Regions from separate parts of the Homo sapiens genome. Here region 1 is linked to region 2. The links are contacts of gene promoters, found by promoter capture Hi-C in human tissues and cell types (Jung and others, 2019). All regions are on one chromosome and are shown on one strand. Each heading gives the region's core, a stretch centred on a gene start or on the middle of the fragment in contact. The rest is flanking DNA. Distances are from core to core; before and after follow the strand shown. Region 1 has its middle 15 kb from the start of SSU72L6. Region 2 holds the start of GPR37 (G protein-coupled receptor 37).

Region 1 (5,048 bases), core at 1,620-4,119, 300 kb before region 2:
GTAAGTAACAAAGCCAGGAGTTAAACAAGTTTGTCAGATACTTATTCTCAACCCTTATGATATACTGCTAGTTTTTAATCACTGTAAGTAATATTAAACAAATAAATCTATTGTTCAAGTCTTACTGAAATCTGCCTCTCATTTTTGTAAAAACTTAAATGTTTGATCTACAATTTATTACTTGATCAGATATAAAATTTGATCAATACCCTTTATTTTCCTGGTACTATATTTTGCATCCTCTGTTCTCCATGCAAAGGCCAGATTGAGAGTGGAGTAGCAGAAGGAGATGAAAGCTCAATAAAATAGAAACCATTCCACTGGTACAGTGTTCTTGTATTCCCTTTTAGAAGAGAGATTTTAAAAGGGTTATTTTATCACCATCTGTGAGAAATTCAGCTTAAATGATAAAAAAAGCTTTTAAATGATTTATGGAGAAAATTTTGCTCTAAACTGTGAAAAAGATTTCTTAACAGAAAGTTGTGGAAACTGGTAAAACAAGTCAACAAAATTACCTTTTTCCTGTGAAATAATCCCGATGTCACTAAAGAATGCTGAGCCTCCACATGGACTGTGGGAGAGGAAAGAAATATACTCACATCTATCTCACGGCCCTAGAGATTTTTACCTCTTAAAATTCATATGCCTAATTACAGAATTGCAAAATTCTTCAGCAGCTGAATGCCATTCCTCTTAGTCCAACAGATGTCTTGCACATTTTCTTCTCAATGGAGCCAATGTTTATTTCTATTAGAAGACTCTAAATCACACGTTGTTTGACACTTCTAGTTTATCTTTAACTCGAAAGGTTAATTTAATGCTTTCTCCACTGCATATTACAAATACTTCTGAGAGTAGCAGCTTCATATAAGGAAACAGTTCAGAACATGACATTTTACCCACCCAGACTCCTAGTCCATCACATGATTTGTCAATTCTAGGCCTCTGGCTTATTTTGAAATGCATTGCCTCACTCATCATGCGGTACATCTTTGCATGGCCCAGGTCCCTCTTCCGGTTCAAGGTTCCCATCTCCCAGCTTCTGGGTATGCTGGAAGCTGGGAGCTCATACCTGAGCCTGCTCTAGGAATTGCACTTTGCAGAAATGAGCTTCCTGGTTCAAGGCTTTACTCAATCCACTGTATAGTAGATATGGAGATATGAAGCTCCAGTTCTCTTGCTTTTGTTTGAATAACTGCCAGGTCCATCCCACGTCCAGCAGTGTATGGATTCAACTGAAGCTACTGCTCGAAATGTAGTGCAGTTCAACTTTTCTTTCTGCCAAATCCTGTTTTCTCACAAGTGTAGGTCCTAAGAACACTCTCCAATAAAGCTCCCACATAAATATCTCAGAGATTTAGAGATTCTCACCACCACCAGTGCCCTGGAACACTTGACCTCACTGCAAAGACAACTTTCATAAGTCTTTTCATTCATCCAGCAAATATTTTTCAGGTTTCCACTCTGTCAGGCATAGTATTAATTGCTGAGGATACAATGATAATTTAGTACCTGATCATGTAGAGACAATCCTCTGGTGGGATTTATTAAAAAACAAAAGTATTTGCAATAAATTATGATATTTGCTACAGCAGGGGAAATCCAAGGAGGGATGACCAAATCCATTTACGGGGATTAGGGAGGAGTCTATAAAGGCAATGATCTCTTGCTGAGAACTAAAAGATAAATAGGATGAGCTGGGTTGTGGGCAGTGAGTTATATTTCAGGGAGAGGAAACACTGGCTTTAGAGATCCTGAGGGCAGTGATAGTATATGAGACACTGAAAGATTTTCAATGTATGTACAATTTAGAGTGCATAACATAAGAGTGGCAGAGCCATAGTAAAGCATTCCATTGAAGGATTTTTAAAAATTTTAACTGAATCATTGAGGTATAATGACACATCATAAACTACATATTTAACATATAAAATTTGATAAACTTAAATATATTTATATATACACACACACACACACACACACACACATATATATATATATATGAAACTGCCACCACATTCAAGGCACTGAAACATATTTGTCACCCCAAAGGTTTACACAGGCCTCTGTTTAAACACTTTCTCCTAGCCCTCCCCAATCCTAAGGTAAACACGGATCTATTTCTTAACTTTTAGGTTCAGGGTGCATATGCAGGTTTGTTATATAGGTAAATTCATTTCGTGGGTTTGTTGTACAGATTATTTCATCACCCAAGCACTAATCCTAGTACTCAATAGTTGTATTTTCTGTTCCTGTCCCTCCTCCCACTCTCTACCCTCTAGTAGGCCTCAGTGTCTGTTGTTCCCCTCTTTGTATCCATGTGTTCTCATCATTTAGCTCCCACTTATAAGTGAGAATATGTGGTACATGGTTTTCTGTTCCTGAACTGGTTTGCTAAGGATGATGGTCTCCAGCTCCATCCATGTCCTTGCGAGGGACATAATCTCATTCTTTTTAATGGCTGCTTAGTATTCCATGGTGTATATATACCATATTTTCCTTATCCAGTCTACAATTGATGGCCCTTTAGGTTGATTCCATGTGTTTGCTACTGTGAATAGTGCTACAACGAACACCTATCTGCATGTGTCTTTATGATAGAACTAATTATATTCCTTTGGATGTATACCAAGTAATGGGATTGCTGGATTGAATGGTAGTTCTGTTTTAAGCTCTTTGAGAAATCACCACACTGCTTCCCACAATGGTTGAACTAATTTACACTCCCACCAACAGTGTATAGGCATTCTCTGTTCTCCACAACCTCGCTAGCTTCTGTTATTTTTTGACTTTTTAGTAATAGTAATCCTGACTGGTGTGAGATGGCACCTCTTGTGGTTTTGATGTGCATTTCTCTAATGATCAGTGATATTGAGCTTTCTTTCATATGTTTGTTGGCTGAATGTATGTGTTCTTTTGAAAAGTGTTTATGTCTTTTGCTCACTTTTTAATGGGGTTGTTAGGGGTTCTTTCTTGTAAATTTGTTTAATTTCCTTATAGATGCTGGATACCAGACCTTTGTCAGATGCATAGCTTGCAAATATTTTCTTCCATTCTGTAGGTTGTCTGTTTACTCTGTTGATAGTTTCTTTTGGTGTGTAGAAACTCTTTAGTTTAATTAGATCCCATTCGTCAATTTTTGCTTTTGTTTTGCTTGCTTTTGGTGACTTCATCATGAAATCTTCCCCAATTCCTATGTCCAGAATGGCATTGTCTAGGTTGTCTTCCAGGATTTTTATATTTTAGGGTTTTACATTTAAGCTTTTAATCCACCTAGAGTTGATTTTTGTATATGGTGCAATGAAGGAGTCCAGTTTCAATCATCTGCATATGACCATCCAGTTATCCCAGTGACAATTATTGAATAGGGAATCCTTTCCCCATTGCTTGTTTTTGTCAGTTTTGTTGATGATCAGATGGCTGCAGATGTGAAGCCTTATTTCTGGGCTCCCTACTCTGTTTTATTAGTCTATGTGCCTGTTTTTTGTACCAGTACCAGGCTATTTCAGTTACTGTAGTCCTGCAGTATAGTCAGATAATGTGATGCCTCCAGCTTTGTACTTTTTGCTTAGGATTTCCTTGGCTATTCAGGCTCTTTTCTGGTTTTACATTAATTTTAAAATAGCTTTTTCTAGTTCTATGAAGAATGTTGTTGGTAGTCTAATACTATTTTTGTCATTATAAATTATCCTGCATTTCTAGAGTATTACACAAATTAAATCACAAAAGTTTGTTTTTTTTTGTCTGGCTTCTTACACACAGCATAATTATTTTGTGATTCATTCATGTTGTTGCATGCATCAATATCTCATCCTTTTTTTTTCCTGTGGTTAATGGCACTTCTATTTACATAGGAGGACTCCCTAAGAGTGAATTGGTTCTGTTCAAATATATGAGGATTCTAAATTTAAACTAAGACGTTGCCAGATTTTTTTTCCAAAGACTTTACTAATTCATTCATAGTCTCACCAGTCATGTGAGGAAGTACTCTCTTTCCCTGTATGTCCCTGGCAGCAATATGCATTACCAGTCTTTTCATTTTTGCTTAATATCTCAATTTTAATATTAATTTTCTGACCTACTAGCATATTTTAGTATATTTTTATTGCACTTTTCTTTCTTTTTTTTAAATTATACTTTAAGTTTTAGGGTACATGTGCACAATATGCAGGTTTGTTACATATGTATACATGTGCCATGTTGGTGTGCTGCACCAATTAACTCGTGGTTTAACATTAGGTATATCTCCTAATGCTATCCCTCCCCCCTCACCCACCCCACAACAGTCCCTGGTGTGTGATGTTCCCCTTCCTGTGTCCATGTGTTCTCATTGTTCAATTCCCACCTATGAGTGAGAACATGCAGTGTTTGGTATTTTGTCCTTGCAATAGTTTGCTGAGAATGATGGTTTCCAGCTTCATCCATGTCCCTACAAAGGACATGAACTCATCATTTTTTATGGCTGCATAGTATTCCATGGTGTATATGTGCCACATTTTCTTAATCCAGTCTATCATTGTTGGACATTTGGCTTGGTTCCAAGTCTTTGCTATTCTGAATAGTGCCACAATAAGCATACACATGCATGTGTCTTTATAGCAGCATGATTTATAATCCTTTGGGTATATACCCAGTAATGGAATGGCTGGGTCAAATGGTATTTCTAGTTCTAGATCTCTGAGGAATCGCCACACTGACTTCCACAATGGTTGAACTAGTTTACAGTCCCACGAACAGTGTAAAAGTGTTCCTGTTTCTCCACATCCTCTCCAGCACTTGTTGTTTCCTGACTTTTTAATGATCGCCATTCTAACTGGTATGAAATGGTATCTCATTGTGCTTTTGATTTGCATTTCTCTGGTGGCCAGTGATGATGAGCATTTTTTCATGTGTCTTTTGGCTGCATAAATGTCTTCTTTTGAGAAGTGTCTGTTCATATCCTTTGCCTACTTTTTGATGGAGTTGTTTGTTTTTTTCTTGTAAATTTGTTTGAGTTCATTGTAGATTCTGGATATTAGCCCTTTGTCAGATGAGTAGATTTCAAAAAT
Region 2 (5,384 bases), core at 318-2,817:
AAGGGGTTCTTCAGTCTCACACGCCGGTTCGTGCTGTTTCCCCGGCGGGGACCCCCAGGCTCATGGATTCCTTCACCCAAGGATCCATTCTGGGCCAGCGCCCGGCCCGGGAGTGCAATTGTCCACCCTTCGTGCCCCGCCAGTCCATTGGCCGTCTTGGACAGGGGCTTGTGGTGGGAACCCTGGAGTTTCCCGGCTCTCCTTGGCCAGTAAAAAAGATCGCTGGCTCCGGGGACTGTCTTCACACTCTGCTCCTGGCTACGCCCGGAAATGCCAGCGCCTCTGGGACCCTTCTCTTCCTCCTCTGAGATCTGAAGGAAGAGCTGGAGGGCCGTGGGGTTCCCTCTCCCCAAAGTTTCAGAAGGCTCCTGACCCCGAGCACCTTTCCACCTCCAGGGGCCAGGTGGCCTGGTTGGAGGTCCCGGGGGTCCGGCTGCCGACGCCTCCGCCCCTCTGCCTGCAGCCGGGTCACGGCCCGGGGCCGCCGGCAGGTCCCAGGAGGGTCCCGCAAGAAACGCTGCCCCCTGCTCCTCCCTGGGTGCTCGGGCTCGCAGAACGTCTCTTGCAGAATTTCCCGGTCCCCAGGCGTCCCTGCCGCGGCGCTGGATCACTGTAGGTGCACAGCTCTCCCCCAGACAAGTTTCGTTTCTGGACGCAGGGGCGACCCCGAGGGCAGAAGAGGCAGACACCTTGAGCAGTAGCAGAAGCAGTAGCCGCGACATGCGGGCGAGAAGCGCGCCCGGGGCTCGCATGGCTTGGTGAGGGCACACCCGGCAGCCGCAGCTCCTGCTTAGTTAGGATCGACACCTGCTGCCGAAGTTGCTGCTGAGAGTTAGGCACATGTCACATACTCACCCCCGCCCGGGTAGCGGGGAACCGGAGATTAGGGTGATAGCGGAAGATCGGTCTTGGGGGTCACACACACGCCCCCTATAATCCTTCCTCCTTTGGCATCTTGTGCATTTCTCAGCCAAGTTGAGTCCCAGCAAGGTATGCCCTCCAAGGTTCCTAGAGGGAATAGGCTACTCCCGGTGGCTGACCTTGAAAAGTTGCAATCAACACCTGACTGTTGATTACTGTTGAGACTCGGGGGAGCCCAGACGAAGCCCCACACTCCTCACTGCCTTTGGGTGGGGGTGGTGGCCTTCTTGGTAACAGTTGCTCTGCCTATTTACATCCTTTCGACAGCGTTTGATCCAGTTGCAAGCCGAGGTCTCTAGAGGAAAAGAAAAACAAGTCCCCCTCCCCCAGACGACTCGCAGTCACAACCCCGCTCCCAGCTCGCTGGAAACACGTTGCAAACAGTCCGAAGCAGCGCTGATGCGCCGGCGAAACTCTTGCCCCACCTAACCCCAGCGACTTGCGAGCCTACTGCTGCCGAGGAGAAGCGGGATTCCAACCCCGCGGCCACTGCCAAAGTTGCTTCTCCTCCAGCTCAAAGTTGACGACGGGGCGAAGCAGGCTGCTGGACGGCGTGCCGCCGCAGAGAAGGAAATCGTGGGGAGAAGGGGGAGAAGAGGGCGCCGCTCGTCGGTGGACAGTGCCGCTAGCCGCGGGAGCTAGTCACTGCCACAGCGGGCTCAGCCCGGACGGGAAGGGTGGTGCCTGGAACCGCCGCGGGCCAGGCAGTGCGCGGCCGGGAAGGGGAGGTGGCCCGGCCTCGCCCCCGCGCTCCAGCCGCTGCGCGCGCCCGCGAAGCTCGACTCTCGGCTCGTTGCCTCCTCCCACTCCTTCGCCTCCTCCTCGGAGAGATACTGGTTTGTGGGGAGACGGGATCCCCTGGTGGTTCACCACTCACTAAACCCACACACGTTTCATTCAAGCCATTTGTAGCGGCTTCCACTCGGAGGAGCTGGGAGGGAACAAGGGCGGAGGCGCGGAGCCTGCGCGGCTCGAGGCTAGGGATGGGCGGGACAGGTTAATTCCCCAGCTGTCGAAACCAGCCTGACAGGTCCCCGAGCCCGGGCTAGGGGCGGGTGCGGGGCGGGAGTGGGGGGTGGGGGTGGGAACGGGAATATGAGAGCGGTCGGGGGAGGGAAGAGAGGAGGGTAGCAGGGGAGTGAGCAGCAGGGTCCCCTCCAATCTGTTGCGGCTGATGCGCATGCCCAGGTCTCAGCTCTGGGGGGCGAGGGGCGGGGCGGGGGAGGGGCGGACGGGGGTTGGGCCGCGGGGAGTAAGAAGGTGAAACCTCACCTCCTCAGGTATTCCCTAGAGATAGGAGAGAATGGGAGCTCAGAGGTGTCAGTCATAGAGAATTACCAGTTCCAGGATTGAGATGCAGAGCGAGAAAGCTCAGGATGCACCATTACCTTTAACACTGAGTTGGGAAGCATCCTACCATGGGTTACTTCGTACCACCCAGAGCATAGTGAGGTAGTTGTATTTGATGAAGTAGTGGGAAATGACTGGAGGCAGAAAATTACTCGAACAGCACTCCCAGCACGGCTGTCCATGCCTTTCCAACCTTTCTACTATATCCCACAACCCTGTCAAAACTGTCAGGGCATAGCTAATAAAATAGACAAATTAATGAAGAGAAAATGATAGAGGAAGAAATAAACACATTCTGAATTTTTTTTTTAAACAGAGTCTTGCTGTGTCGCCCAGGCTGGAGTGCAGTGGTGCGATCTCGACTCACTGCAACCTCCGCCTCCCCGGGTTCAAGCGATTCTCCTGCCTCAGCCTCCCAAGTAGCTGAGACTACAGGCACCCGCCACCATGCCCGGCTAATTTTTTTTGTATTTTTAGCAGAGACGGGGTTTCACTATGTTGGCCAGGCTGGTCTTGAGCTCCTGACCTCGTGATCCGCCCGCCTCGGCCTCCCAAAGCGCTGGCATTACAGGCGTGAGCCATCACACCCGGCCTGAATTTTTTTAAAGCAACACATCTAGAGAGGCAGGAGAAAACACAATGGAACATATGATACCAATTGTGGTAAATAGAATAATGCCCCCCCAAAAAAATGTCCGAATCCTAATTCCTAATACCTGTGAGTATGTTACCTTACAGAGCAAAAGGGATTTTGCCAATGCAATTCAGCTAAGACTCTTGAGATGGGGAGAGTATCGTGATTATCCAGGTGGGTACACTATAATCACAAGAGCCCTTACAAATGAGAGGCAGGAGGGTCAGAGTAAAAACAAACACAAGCCAAGTGATGTGGGCAATCTCTGGAAGCTAGAATGGGCATAAAAAAGGATCTACTAGCCCATTTGAGACTTCTGACCTCCATAACTGTAAGATAATGAATGTGTGTTGTTTTAAGCCACAAAATTTATGGTTATTTGTTGCAGTAGCAATAGTAAACTAATACACCATTAAATCTAAAAATGGAGACAACAGGAATAATTGTATAGAAAAACATAAACTACCAAAAATAGTTCAAGAAGAAAATTTTCAGAAACTGTAATCGAACTATAACATTAAAGAAATCAAATCATTCATCAAGATCTACCCAGAGGAAAGTGCTAGACCTTAGCATATCCTGCGGAATAAATATACATTTATACAAAATGTTTTAAAGCTACTCAGTTCATTTTGTGAAGGCAGAATAACCTTAATGTCAAAATCAGACAAAGCCAGAAATAGGAAAAAATATAAGCTAATAGCACACATTCATTTGTACATTAATTCATTCATTTATATACACTAACTCATTCTCTCAAATTCACTACTTCATTAAAGAAATATTCTGCTCAAGTTACTTAGGTCAGAGCAGTGAATAAAATAAAGTTCTGCTCTCACTGAATTTATATTTTCTTGTATACTCATAAAAAGGACAAACTAGGCTTATGTGTATCACCAAGACTGAATCTCAGAAACATAAATGTAAGGGAAAAACGTAGAACTTGATGTGTTAACTATATAATGCTACCATTTGTGTAGCTCTTAAAATGCACATAAAACAATTTGATAATCATACATGGTGTATCATATAAAATATGTGAATGGAATAAATACAGATCAACTTCAGAATATTAGTCACCTCAGGAAATAGAAGAATGGTCATGGGATGGAAGGAAGCTTCTACTCTAACTGTAGTATCTTGTTTCTTTAAAAAAAATTTAGAAGAGGGAAATCTGGATTAATAATGAAACAGGAAAAATAAGTTGCCAAAATGAAACAGTGATATAGCTTCCCTTCTCATCTCATTAGCTTAGAGTTTAAGTTACACATGTAAGATATGTTTCTATCCTTTTTACTCTAGACCACATAAATGTGTCACTAATCTCTATCACTACACAGAAAGGAATCAAAGCTAAACAGGGAAAAATCCCTTTACCTGCTCCCTTAGAAGCTCCATTGTAATTCACACATGCTTGGCCCAGAGTTGGGCATCATTCTTAAAGTGGTGGGCTATAGAACTCAGGTACCATGCTTGGAGAGTGGCTGGGGAAAGGCCTGAAGGAGGAGCTACCTGTGTTTGTCTGTGGTGGTATCTCATTCATGAGTGGTCCCTTCCTTAACCTGAACAATGATGCCTACCTACTTGGATGGTTGCCAAGTTCTGGTTCTCTAACTTATTCGGACCATGAATAAAACCAAAGAGCTCCAGCTACTCTATTGGAGCCCAGGTCAATATCAATTATTTATAAAATTGTGTTTCCAAAAATATCAATTATTTATATTTTTGGAAACACAATTTTCTCATCTGTATAATAAGGATACTAATACCTACTCTCAGCTCTGCTCACCCAAGTTGTTATGTGGATTAGGTAGATATGAAAAGACTACATAAAGTATAAAATATTTATTACTGTTGCTCTTGGTAGTTCAACTTTGTTTTTAGTGAAATTTAAATGCTGTCAAAAACACATAATCCTTGAAAAAGAATATGCTTGGTAAATAAAAGTGTAAAGTAATAGGTTTATAAGAAAATTTAGAATGCATTCCCTGCAAAAAGAAAAACACACATCTTCAAATATTTTTCCAAAGCTTAGCTCAGCTGTAACTATAAATTTTAAATGGAAATAGTCACATCTCATTCATTTGTGTAGATTCTACTTTAGAAATATAGATCAGAAAAGGAATTAGCTAATCATTGTCTGGTTTACATCTGAGGCCATTTATCTGTACAAAGAAAACTGATTTGAACATGGATTTTTTTTCCTGTGTCAGCATTTCACAAGGTTTATAATACATACTATTGATTTTTTTAATAAAAAAAGAACATGTAAATTATTACCTGCCTTGGCATTTTTATAAAATCTATTACACTTCATTTGGTGTTTGGTGTGCTGAAATAACACACATCACAGAATGAGAGAAATTACTATTTCAAGTTTTAAGATACATCGTTGAACAGAAGCTTTACCCAGCACACAATTCACTTATCAAATAATTTTCTTTCTTTTTTGCCTCAGATAATTCAAAAGGGTCATTTT

Evidence for each region. The method cuts DNA at HindIII sites, captures the fragments that hold promoters and counts their contacts. A contact is called where the count stands out against the background at its distance.
Region 1: a fragment that was not itself captured here is called in contact with the fragment with the promoter of GPR37 in region 2 in 1 of the 25 tissues and cell types used here (IMR-90 fibroblasts).

What each region holds. Positions count from the first base shown.
Region 1 is chr7:124,458,608-124,463,655 of GRCh38, forward strand. No RefSeq gene overlaps it. Among named protein-coding and RNA genes, the nearest start is that of SSU72L6, 15 kb to the right of the region's middle. The HindIII fragment of the contact is 5,914 bases long and covers 1-5,048 here.
Region 2 is chr7:124,764,225-124,769,608 of GRCh38, forward strand. It overlaps GPR37 (G protein-coupled receptor 37), which reads right to left and starts at 1,568. Exons shown (of 2, transcript NM_005302.5): 1 at 1-1,568. The coding sequence starts at 752. RefSeq lists a silencer at 1,580-1,709. The HindIII fragment of the contact is 7,043 bases long and covers 1-4,479 here.